3 separate regions of the Homo sapiens genome follow, and all the other regions are linked to region 1. Evidence: promoter capture Hi-C in 16 types of primary human blood cells and fetal thymus (Javierre and others, 2016). All regions are on one chromosome and are shown on one strand. The core of a region is centred on a gene start or on the middle of the fragment in contact, and the rest is flanking DNA. Distances in the headings are between cores, read along the strand shown. Region 1 holds the start of AKAP11 (A-kinase anchoring protein 11). Region 2 holds the start of PROSER1 (proline and serine rich 1). Region 3 overlaps TPT1-AS1 (TPT1 antisense RNA 1).

What was found. The method cuts DNA at HindIII sites, captures the fragments that hold promoters and counts their contacts. A CHiCAGO score of 5 or more calls a contact.
Region 2: a contact is called between the fragment with the promoter of PROSER1 here and the fragment with the promoter of AKAP11 in region 1, in 5 of 17 cell types (naive CD8 T cells, naive CD4 T cells, total CD8 T cells and 2 more). The highest score is 10.7, in naive CD8 T cells.
Region 3: a fragment that was not itself captured here is called in contact with the fragment with the promoter of AKAP11 in region 1 in 1 of 17 cell types (naive CD8 T cells); the score reaches 6.2 in naive CD8 T cells.

Annotation. Positions count from the first base shown.
Region 1 is chr13:42,270,305-42,273,852 of GRCh38, forward strand. It overlaps AKAP11 (A-kinase anchoring protein 11), which reads left to right and starts at 1,848. Exons shown (of 13, transcript NM_016248.4): 1 at 1,848-1,924. RefSeq lists an enhancer at 1,038-1,217 and a silencer at 1,758-2,107. The HindIII fragment of the contact is 2,900 bases long and covers 1,034-3,548 here.
Region 2 is chr13:39,035,791-39,039,338 of GRCh38, forward strand. PROSER1 (proline and serine rich 1) reads right to left here and starts at 2,299. Exons shown (of 13, transcript NM_025138.5): 1 at 1,408-2,299. The coding sequence starts at 1,452. It overlaps NHLRC3 (NHL repeat containing 3), which reads left to right and starts at 2,666. Exons shown (of 7, transcript NM_001012754.4): 1 at 2,666-2,933; 2 at 3,346-3,498. The coding sequence starts at 2,850. RefSeq lists an enhancer at 528-637 and a silencer at 1,780-2,009. The HindIII fragment of the contact is 10,591 bases long and covers 1-3,548 here.
Region 3 is chr13:45,341,663-45,345,210 of GRCh38, forward strand. It overlaps TPT1-AS1 (TPT1 antisense RNA 1), which reads left to right. Exons shown (of 11, transcript NR_024458.1): 2 at 1,764-1,878; 3 at 2,717-2,784. It overlaps LOC124903169 (a long non-coding RNA gene), which reads left to right. Exons shown (of 2, transcript XR_007063781.1): 2 at 1,625-1,641. Among named protein-coding and RNA genes, the nearest start is that of TPT1-AS1, 2.1 kb to the left of the region's middle. RefSeq lists an enhancer at 960-1,747. The HindIII fragment of the contact is 1,762 bases long and covers 810-2,571 here.

The DNA of each region.
Region 1 (3,548 bases), core at 598-3,097:
CCCATGCTAGTTTCTGACAGAGCAAGAGCATCACCATCTTGGACAAGCACCGCCATTTTAAGTTCCCCTTGATTAAAAACCGCCTAAATCCAGCCCCAGAAACATCAGCCTAATGGCTAATGTCAGCATGACCATAAACCACAAATAACACTTCTGACCAGAAACTTTCCAACCCTGAGATAAACCCCACTCTGATCAGAAATATGCCTCCCCTCCAACCAGAGACATTACACCCCTGACAATAAAACTCTCCTCCACCCAGAAACATTCCAAGTCTACAATATGCTCTCCCTCCCTAAACCACTAAATACCTTTAGTCTGTAAGAGAGAACACTCCTGACCGAAATCGGCCAGAAGCCCCTCTCAGGTTTATTCTCCAAAATAAACCTGTCTCTGTTAAGCTGCTTTTTGTGTTTCTTTCTTTAACTCTTACAGTTTCCATCTCCAGGCTCAAGAAAGTTTACTTTCTCATTTCTTCTTCCCTCAAATGCACTAGAATAGATCCTTACTTAGGGCCTTTGAATTAGTGTTATCCTTTTCCTGGAATGCTCTATGCTCTGATTTTTGCGTCTGTTATTCAAATCGCTGCTAAAATATCTCCTCCTTAAAAGGGCATCCCCTTTACTAGCCACTCAGTCACCATCACCATCACGTCACTTATTGTAACTTCTTTGCATACAGCTTAAAACCAACAGATTTTTTTTCTTTTCACCCTCAGATAAGTTCCCTAGAATCTACACTACTTGTCTTCATCATTGTTCAATCAACAGCCTAGAGTAGTGTTTGTTGAATGAAGAAATGAACAAACGAATGCACCCTTTCTTCCGTGACCCTCTCCTCTGAACAGGGCAAAACTTAACTCATAACGAGGATACACTCAAAAATGTCTTTCTTATTGCCAGGTGTTTCCACTCTTGAGGAACAGATGCCCTTTAGGAGACAGGGCAATTTGACTGGACTGGCCCTTCCGATTTTAGGTGAAAATAATCACCATAACAGCTTTTCATCTCTGGCTAGGCTTCCCAGTGACCAAAGCTTTACTTTCCGATTTCCATACCACGTAAAGACATCAGGGTGAGCACTAGGGCCCTGAGAACCCTGGAAGCTACTTCTTGGCTGGGATAGGGCTGGTTGCCCGGTGCGCTGTGAGTGGTCCTCCCCGGAGATGCTGGGAGAAGGGGCGGAGCCATCAGAAAGGATGAGCCTTCCTTGGGCCTTCGGATCTGGTGGGGCTGCCACTTTGGGAAGGGCCCCGGGCTTCGGAAGAAAGCAAAACTAGCCTTGTGGCGAAGAAGGAGCCCAGCTGGCCCCAGGCTGTTAAGACTAAGGGGTCGAGGGAAAAGAGGCAGAGCCTGAAACCAAATCTGCGGAGCAAGCCAAGGCCTGGGGACTTGCCAGAGGGAAGGGTTAAGCCGTTTCCAAGGCAACGGACCAGGAAGCGCGCAAGACGTCCGCCGCAGGTTCGTAGGTCGCCCTCGAATTTAAAGCTCCCAAGGCTGAGTGGGTCCCGGCCAATGGAGAGGCCCCCTTTAAGTCATGTGACCAGCGGGGCTGCCCCGCGGGCTGCTCCGCGGGCTGCACTGGAGCACGTGGGAAGGCTTTTTTTCCTGTTCCTTCTTTCCCTTTTTAAACGCCCACCCACTTTTGCGCGGGCTCGGCCGCGGAATTTTTCTCGCGAGAGGCGCGCTGCCCTCTCGCGAGAGAGAGTGGGAGGCGTGGAGAGTAGGCGGTGTTGCGGGCCGGAGCTGCGGCGGCGGCGGCGGCGGCGGAAGCCGAGGGGTGGGCAGGGCGGGGGCGGGCCGCGGGGCTGGGAGGGGGAGGGCTGGGGGTCAGCGCGGGAGGGGGCCAGCTTGCTTGCCCGGCTCGCTCACGGGTCGTTGAGGCCGGTGACATGTCTGTGAGCTGCGGAGGCTGCGGCCCCCAGGTGAGCCGGGCGCCGACGTGCTCGCCGCGGAGGCTGCGTTTAGATGGGGTGGCGGCGGGTGTGCGGCCGGCATGGATGGAGCGGCCCGGCTCCGGCGCTCCAGCCCCTCCGCCTGCCGCTGGTCCCCCTTCTGGCTTCGGGGCCGCCCGAGAGCTGCGCCTTCGCATGGCGGAGGGAGGAGGGCGGGAGGAGCGCGGCCGAAGGAGGAAACTCACCGCACCGGGCCCAGAGTAGAGGGAGGTGCTGGGTCTCGAGACGCGTCTTCCTGGGGTCCCAAGTGTGGCGGTGGAGCTGCCGCCCCTTTTAATGACAGGCTGTTTCCATCCCCGGGGTGGTCTTCAGAGACGGCCCCCCGGGTGCGTGGTGCGCGTGCTTAGTGTGTGTTCGTGGTGTGCGCACAGGAACATTTGCAGCGGTTGGGAGGACGTTGCACTTTGTTCCCGAACAGCATCCTTCACTGTCAGACCCCCGGAGCCTTGGAAGCAGGCGCTGCTCAGATCTTGTAAACGGAAGGCGTCAAGGGGCTCCTCAGAGTATTGATATTTGGATTTGCTGTCAAATACTCTCCTAGGCTGTTAATGGCTTAAGGCTGGCCATAAAGTACCCCGAATGGATTGAGTATACTGCTGTTAATCCAGGCATCTAAGCTGCTTTATAAAAAATATGTAGATGTAACCGAAGTATTAAAAAGTGACAATGACAGTAAAAGCTAACATTTTTTCTCTTCCCCATATTACCAGCTTTCATTTTTTTTCTCTGCTTTGTCTGTCTTCTAAAACCATATAAAGTTGGATGTGGTTTAGCTTTAGATGTTAAGGAGTTTCATGGTGAGAAAGACTGCTGAGATACATACCTAATAGCTTTAGTACAAACTGGAGTTAATTCCTGTTCTCTTTTCAGCTTTTCAATCGCTTGCAAAATGCTCGTTTTGCTTAGCTGCTTCCCACTGTTTTAGAAATGTCATGTCGATTGTTATTTTGTTATGTCTGAAAATACTCAAAATATGGAGTACTAAGAAAAAATGGGGTATCAGTAATGCACAGATATATTTTTTTTAATGTCATCATTTTAGGATGGCAGCCCAGTGCCTGGCATGATTGGTGTCAGTTAAAATAGTGCAATTGAATGATTTTTTTTTTTTTTGAAAAACACATTTACTTTTTCAAACGGTACCCTGATTATTCATTTTTTCTTGTCGTTGTTCCTCCTGACAAAACTGACCCAGGGGTGGACAGTGAATGTCACTATTGTAGCTGTAACAGTAATTTATGAAAGGTCAAAGAATGTAAGGAAATCAGGGAAGAAGTGGGTTCCCAAGCTGAGCTAGAGACTAATGTATGTACCCACATAACTGCAGTATCGACAATATTGATAAGGGCCTAGCAGTGGACTCCTAGGCCAGTGATATTTTGCAGTTGTTGAGGATATGGGAAGTTGCCTAAGACATGGAACCATAGTGAGAAATTCTCTAGCCTTCTCTAGCCCCCTGAACTCCAGGGATAAGTCTAGAAGCTGAAGAAGTCCTCTTTTGCCTTTAGAGGCTGGAAAAAATACGGTACTTTTAATTTTTTTATTTTTTAATTTTAGGAACTTACTGTCTGGAAAAGGAACTCAAACCAATTTG
Region 2 (3,548 bases), core at 1,049-3,548, 3.2 Mb before region 1:
AATCAGTAGTAATGCTCATATTTAGATATGCCAATATTTTATTCCATTTTAATAGACCATGACAATGTTGATGTGTCTAATCACTCGGCAAAGCCAGCAGAAGATATATTTTAACTGCTGACCAGAAATACAGACTTAAGTTGCCATCTCATGTGAACAACACTTTCATATCTGGAAAATTTCCTATTCCCCTCTTTAGAATTTACTGTGACGTTTTTATGACACCAGGAAGAGAATATGCACACTGAGACCCTGTATCTTCCAAAAGTAAAAATCTGCTGGTCTACTTGGACTCACCAATTATTTTCTCATGAAAAGTAATTAAAAATCAGCCCAAGAACAAATTGTGACAAATTTCTAGGCATATAATTAGCAAACCAATATTTTATTTCAAAAATTAATTGGACACTTAGGTTTGCAAAAGCAGAACTTGTTCAAAAAAGAATGTTCAGTATTATCAAATATGAAAACTTAAACACGTCAATTTGAAAAAAGAAAAAAGCTGTATAAAAACAAAGCAAAACAGCAAGACCAGAGACAATTTTAATAATAGCTTTGTAAACTGAAATAAGCACCAGAGCACATGGCAACAATTTCTTCCGTTTCAGTCAAGGGTCGTAAAGGTATGCAGCTGACGAAAGAATAATTGCCCGGAAGGCCGAAGGAAAGCACCGTGTGTTGATGTAACAATGGTACATCAAGTCCTTACATTTTAAAATAAGTAACTTCTCGGTATTTTTGTGCTTGAGATATTGTTAGGCTCAAGACTACCTTCCAGAATTGTTGCTGTCTGGTTCACTCTGGGAAATGCGATCCACACAACAGCCTCAAAAAGCAGCAAAAACTTGGAAAGCAGGAGAAAAAAGTTTTGAAGCTCAAGTTATTGACGGCCAATTCCTAAGAACGTGACTTTAAACTTAATGCCACACTTACCATCAGGACACGAATTTTGCATGGCCAACGCAACAAATATACTCTACCTTATGCTTAGATTTGAAAACCCCATCATAATAACTACCATAAAAGAAACTTTCTGCGTATTACCTCTCGTTTTCAGTCACTCTTGTGTTACTGAAAGATGAGGCAATAAACTCAAAAATATTAAACCCCTTACCCAAAAAGTACAGAGCTATTACGGATTTGTAAAGCCGGCTTTGGAACCGAGGGCTTTACAAATGTAATTCCCACGACACCGTGCTGAGTCTCAAATTTGGCGTTAACGTAACTTAATTTCTATTTGTACTGGAAACGTATCAAGATATAAACTCCTCCATTACACGTGAAAATTCAAACCAATTTGGCAATCCTAGGACCCTTATTCTGCACAATCTCCATACAGTACCTCAAAGAGAGTCTAAAACACGAGAATTCATCTCATAAAATAATTCATGGAATCGGTCTAATTACCTTTCTAATTTCATCCAGCACCATTTCAAAGGACTTTTTATCCATCTTGACTACTATCCCGACGTGGTTTTAACAGTTATACTTGCAATTAAAAGACGTTCATCCCTGGTCTGCTCCGCCGATAGTAAAAAATATTTATAGCTGAGGAGGAAAAAGACTCCACGAGCAAGAGAGGATGCGAAGAGGTAGAGAGTATTGCAAACTTCGCAAAAAAAATTTCTAAAAATTGAGATTCAGAAAAACTCTTTTTATTAAAAAGAAAAAACACTCCAGTCAGGCTTCCCCAGCTTATTCACACAATGGTTCAGGGCACCTCGGGCAAGAGCCAGGTCCTCTGAGTTTTGCAGAAAAACCCGGGCTCGGCGGCAGGTTTGAGTGCGGTTTCCCTGCAGCTGAGGGCCAGGTGCCGCCAGAGGTAGCTCTTGAAGGCGCTTTCCCAGGTGGAGCGGCCGGCAGAGTAGAAACACCTGCGCTCAGAGTCCACGGGCGGCGGGGAGGGAGGCGCCGGTCTCTCGACCCGCACCTGCGCCTCGGCCGCCGGCCGCGACCCTCACCGCCGCGAACCCGGACGCATGGTCCGGCTCGCGCTCATCCCCAGCCGCTCCGCCCGACTCCTGGATACCTCGGCCCCGGCAGCAGGCGGCCCGGCAGGCTCTTTGTTACCAGCTGCTGCAGCTTCCGGGAGCGGGCCGGCGGCTGGGGAGCACCAGGAGCCGGGCGAAGAGGGGCACGGCCTCGCATAGGGGGACTCCGGAAAAACGCAGCCCCAACAGCGCCAGACGCCCTGCCTGGTTACCCCTACAGCCCCCACCAGCTCATGGGGACCTACAATAAAGCCAGTCGCGCCCAAGTAAACTCAACACTGCGCCGCCAGCTTGGGCCCCTCTTTCCTGAAAGCCAGAGGTGGGGTCCTGGTGTGGGAATATAGGCATCCATAGCGGATGCCTGGATGGTAGGAATAGGATGTGGCAAAAATCCTTCCCGAAGCCTAGCGGTCATTATTTTGAATGTCATCCCCACCATACCTCGTGTCTGAGTGTGCGATGTTTTGATTTTGCCCTCTGGATTAAAAAGAATAAATGGCGAGCGATTAAGGCATATCTACGGGCGCCCATACTTTGGTGGCCACTGAAAGTCAGCGGCGCGGACTGCCCTGAGGGCGGGAAAGGGTGGTCACTGGGTCAGCCCGAAGCACCTGACATGAGGGCGGGGACCCCGAAATGCACACGAAGTCCGGAACTGGTCTTCTGTGATTTTCATTCGCCCTGGTCTCTGTTCCCTTTCGTACTCAAAGCTCGTGCATCCAGGGAGGGGAAACCGGAGATAGGGTCTTCGGGCCCCGGGCAGACCCTCTGTGCCGCTGCAAACCGTTGCAGCCTGAGGCTGTCAGGTCCTCCCCCAGACACCTGCGGACCCTCCCTCTCCTGGCTTCCCGTCTGGTCATGGCGAGATTCTGGGTCTGCGTAGCCGGTGCTGGCTTCTTTCTTGCATTTTTGGTTTTGCATTCGCGTTTTTGTGGCTCTCCAGTGAGTTGGGTAGTGAGGAAATGACTGTCGGGTGTGCGGGTAGCCCTGTTGGGAGGCGTCGCCACGGTCGTGGCATGGAGGTGGCAGGCCCTGGTTCCCTCAGTAGCTTGTCTCAAAGCCTGCACCTGGGTCCAAACTGCCTTGACCCTTTGAGTTTAAAAATTTGTGTATGTTACATCGCCATTTTCCTCTTTCCCAACTCTTACTACATCCTCAAATAATTTGCAGACTTGTATTGTGGTCGTGTTGGTCTTTAGGCATCTAAGCTCATTTCTTTGGAATTATTTCAGTCCAGCAAACTTCTAGTTGTCAAGGCATGCTTAAAAATAAGCCCTGTTACCCGGCCCCCCCGCCCTTTTTTTGTTCTTACCTAGACGGTAAACTAAATCTGAATTGTCTGATTTTGTTTAAGGTTTTGAGGAACTTTACTTTTGCAGTTTCCTGGAGAACTGAGAAAATTCTTTACCGGCTGGATGTGGGTTGGCCTAAGCACCCAGAATATTTTACCGGAACAACATTTTGTGTTGCAGTTGACTCCCTCAATGGATTGGTTTACATAGGTCAAGTAAGTAAATAGAGATTTAAAAAAATTATGAACACAAAGGAAGTAACAGC
Region 3 (3,548 bases), core at 441-2,940, 3.1 Mb after region 1:
CCCTCTGGCCTGGGGTAGATCTCGGGACTGCCCGAGGGCCTCTGACAACTTTTCAGCATCTGCCCCAGGGCTGCCCCAGCTGGAGTTTTTGGGACGCTTTTGTGGGGGCACCGCTGAGTCCGGATAGTGGGACCCAAGTCGTCCTGCTCGGCCCCTGGGGAATAATCGTGTGGGGCGCAAGGTCTGTGGGAAGGGACTTGGAGAGGAGGGAAGATGTCACGGGAGTCTGCACAGGGTTTCCATGTGTTCCAATTTTGTCCCATAATTGAAAGCTTGTGGCATTCTGTGGCGGACGGCTACGGAGCTAGCTCTTCCCTTTACTATTTCGCACTTGGTCTTGGAAAAGTATGTTGTCGCTTTAAGATGAAGTTGAAATTTTATCCCTGGTGCTAGAGGGTCACACAAAGGGAGTTTCCCACCTGCCCCACCTGTTTTTTGAAGGACTTTACACCCAATTACTAAGTATTAAAACAAAACAGGTCCTGCATGGTAGCTCATGCCTGTAATCCCAGAACTTTGGGAGGCAACTACTGAAACCCTGTCTCTACACACACACACACACACACAAATTAAAAATTAATTGGGTGCGGTGGTGCCTGCCTGTAATCCCAGCTATTAGGGAGGCTGAGCTGGGAGGATCGCTTGAGCCCGGGAGTTGGAGGTTACACTGAGCTATGATTGCACCACTGCGCTCCAGCCTGAATGACAGAGCAAGACCTTGGCTCAATAGCAAAACAAAACTTCCGTATTTAGTCACATCGTCACATCTTTGGCATAAGGCAAAGATACATGCCAGTATGAAGTCTGAAAGCTTGTTCTATTTCGCAAATATTTTGTGCTTTGTATCCCTTAGAACTAGGATTTGCACCAAGATTCCAATTGTGAACAAGTTCGATCCAGTCCTACTTATAGAAGTGTTCATTCTGGTAAATCAAAGTATCAGACAATTATAATACATTAACAATTGTTCATAAATCCAATAATATAGCATTCAGCAGAGTAAGAATGCAACCCTTGGGAAAGAGCAGGACACAGGATGGCAATTGGAATGATGGAAAAGTCAAAATGCAAGAGCCAAGAAATTAACCCCTTTAAGAAGATGGGGGGACTGGGCGTGGTGGCTCACACGTGTGATCCCGACACGCGCCTGTAATCCCGGCTACTCGGGAGGCTGAGGCAGGAGGATCGCTTGAACCCGGGAAGCGGAGGTTGCAGTGAGCCGAGATCGCGCCATTGCACTCCAGCCTGAGCAACAAGAGTGAAACCCCGTCCTCCCCCACCCCCAAAAAAAGAAGCTGGAGTTCTTGGATGGAAAACTCCAGAGGACATTGGGCAACTGGGAGGAAGCTAAAAAGGGGGGAAAGGGAAAAAAAAAGATGGGGGTCTTGGATGGAAAACTCCAGAGGACATTGGGCAACTGGGAGGAAGTTAAAAATGGGGTGAAAGGGATCCCAAAATAAATGGATATGACACATGGTCAGTGAAGGCTCTCAAACCTCATTTCTGGAATGTATGAGATGATTATCACACATTAATACTGTGTGAACATTTTTTTTCCAGATTATTACAGTATAATTATTTTCTACCCCGCCCCGCCCAGATGGGGTCTTGCTCTGTTGCCCAGGCTGGAGTGCAGTGGCATGATCTCGGCTCACTGCAACCTCTGACTCCCGGGTTCAAGCGATTCTCCTGCCTCAGCCTCCTAAGTAGCTGGGATTACAGGTGCCTGCCACCACGCCCAGGCAATTTTTTTGTATTTTTAGTAGAGACAGGGTTTCACCATGTTGGCCAGGCTGGTCTCAAACTCCTGAGCTCAGGCGATCTGCCCGCCTCGGCCTCCCAAAGTGCTGGGATTACGGGCGTGAGCCACTGCACCCGGCAAGTATAATTATTTTCTTCAGTTTTAATACTTCCAAACTATTCAGAAATATTATCATTGACCCATGCAGTACTCTCAAACATTACTCTCAACTGCCCAATCTCATATTCAGGTCGAAACAGTTCTTTAAGTTTTATAAAAATATAGTCGTGGTGAAAAAAAGTACTGAAGAGTCATGGCACCCTAGATTAAAATCTTGCCTTTGGCCGGGCGCGGTGGCTCACGCCTGTAATCCCAGCACTTTGGGAGGCCGAGGCAGGTGGATCACTTGAGGTCAGTAGTTTGAGACCAGCCTGGCCAACATGGTGAAACCTCGTCTCTACTAAAAATACAAAAATTAGCCGAGCCTGTTGGCGGTTGCCTGTAATCCCAGCTACTCAGGAGGCTAAGGCAAGAGAATCGCTTGAACCTGGGAGACGGAGGTTGCAGTGAGCCGAGATTGCGCCACTGCACTCCAGCCTGGGCAGCAGAGCGAGACTCTGTCTCAAACTACAAACAACAACAAAAATTTTATTGATAAAATTGCGGGCTCTGAAAAGAAAAGATCTTGAACACCCAACCAATGAGAATAAACAGACGGTTGAGAAACAATTTAGTGAATAGTGAACAACTTTATTTAAAATGAAATAAGAATAGAAAAGAAAAATCATATATAAAGGCGAATCACAGTAAAGGTGAGTATTATTTTGTGAAGCTTTTATTTTATTTTTATTTTATTTTATTTTATTTTATTTTATTTTATTTTATTTTATTATTTTTTGAGAATGAATCTCGCTGTGTTGTCCAGGCTGGAGTGCAGTGGCACCATCTCGGCTCACTGCAACCTCTGGCTCCCAGGTTCAAGCGATTCTCCTGCCTCAGCCCCCTGAGTAGCTGGGATTACAGGCACGCGCCACCACTCCCAGGTATGTTTTAGATTTATGTATGTATGAATGTACTAGATCCCACATATATTTCTTCCTGTGGTTATAAGTCAAGTGTTTTGAAATCCATTGACTTGGGCAAATTTTCTTTTCAAATATATTACTTGGCACCATAAACTCTTCAATTTCAGCAAATGATTTTTTTAAATGACCCCAGTGTTTTGTGAATACTTATATTTGACTCTAGCTCATTTGAACAATTTTTGCCAGAAAGAGAAAACAGCCAAATGGAGATCTGGCTTGCTGTGTAGGGGCTGAGAGAAGTGTGATCATTCTGACCCTCTATTAGCAGGAAACTGCTCAACAGTCACATCTTGAAAGTAACTTGAGGCAACTGCAGGAGGGCTGCATGGCGGGAAAGAAATTGCTGAAAACAGGCTGGGTGAGCTGGCTCGTACCTGTGATCCCAACACTTTGGGAAGTGAAGTTGGGCGGATCACTTGAGGTGAGGAGTTTGAGACCAGCCTGCCCAACATGGTGAAACCTCGTCTCTACTAAAAATAATAAAATTAGCCAGGCATGGTGGTAGGCGGCTGTAGTTCCGGCTATTCGGGTGGTTGAGGCCTGAGAATTGCTTGAACCTGGGAGGTGGAGGTTGCAGCGAGTCGAGATTGCACCACTGCACTCCAGCTTGGGTGACAGAGCGAGACTCTGTCTCAAAAAAAAAAAAAAGAAATTGCAGAAAATTTTTCTCCCCTCCCTTTTTCACTACTGTCCTTGACTAGTTAAAAAAAAAAAAAAAGCCG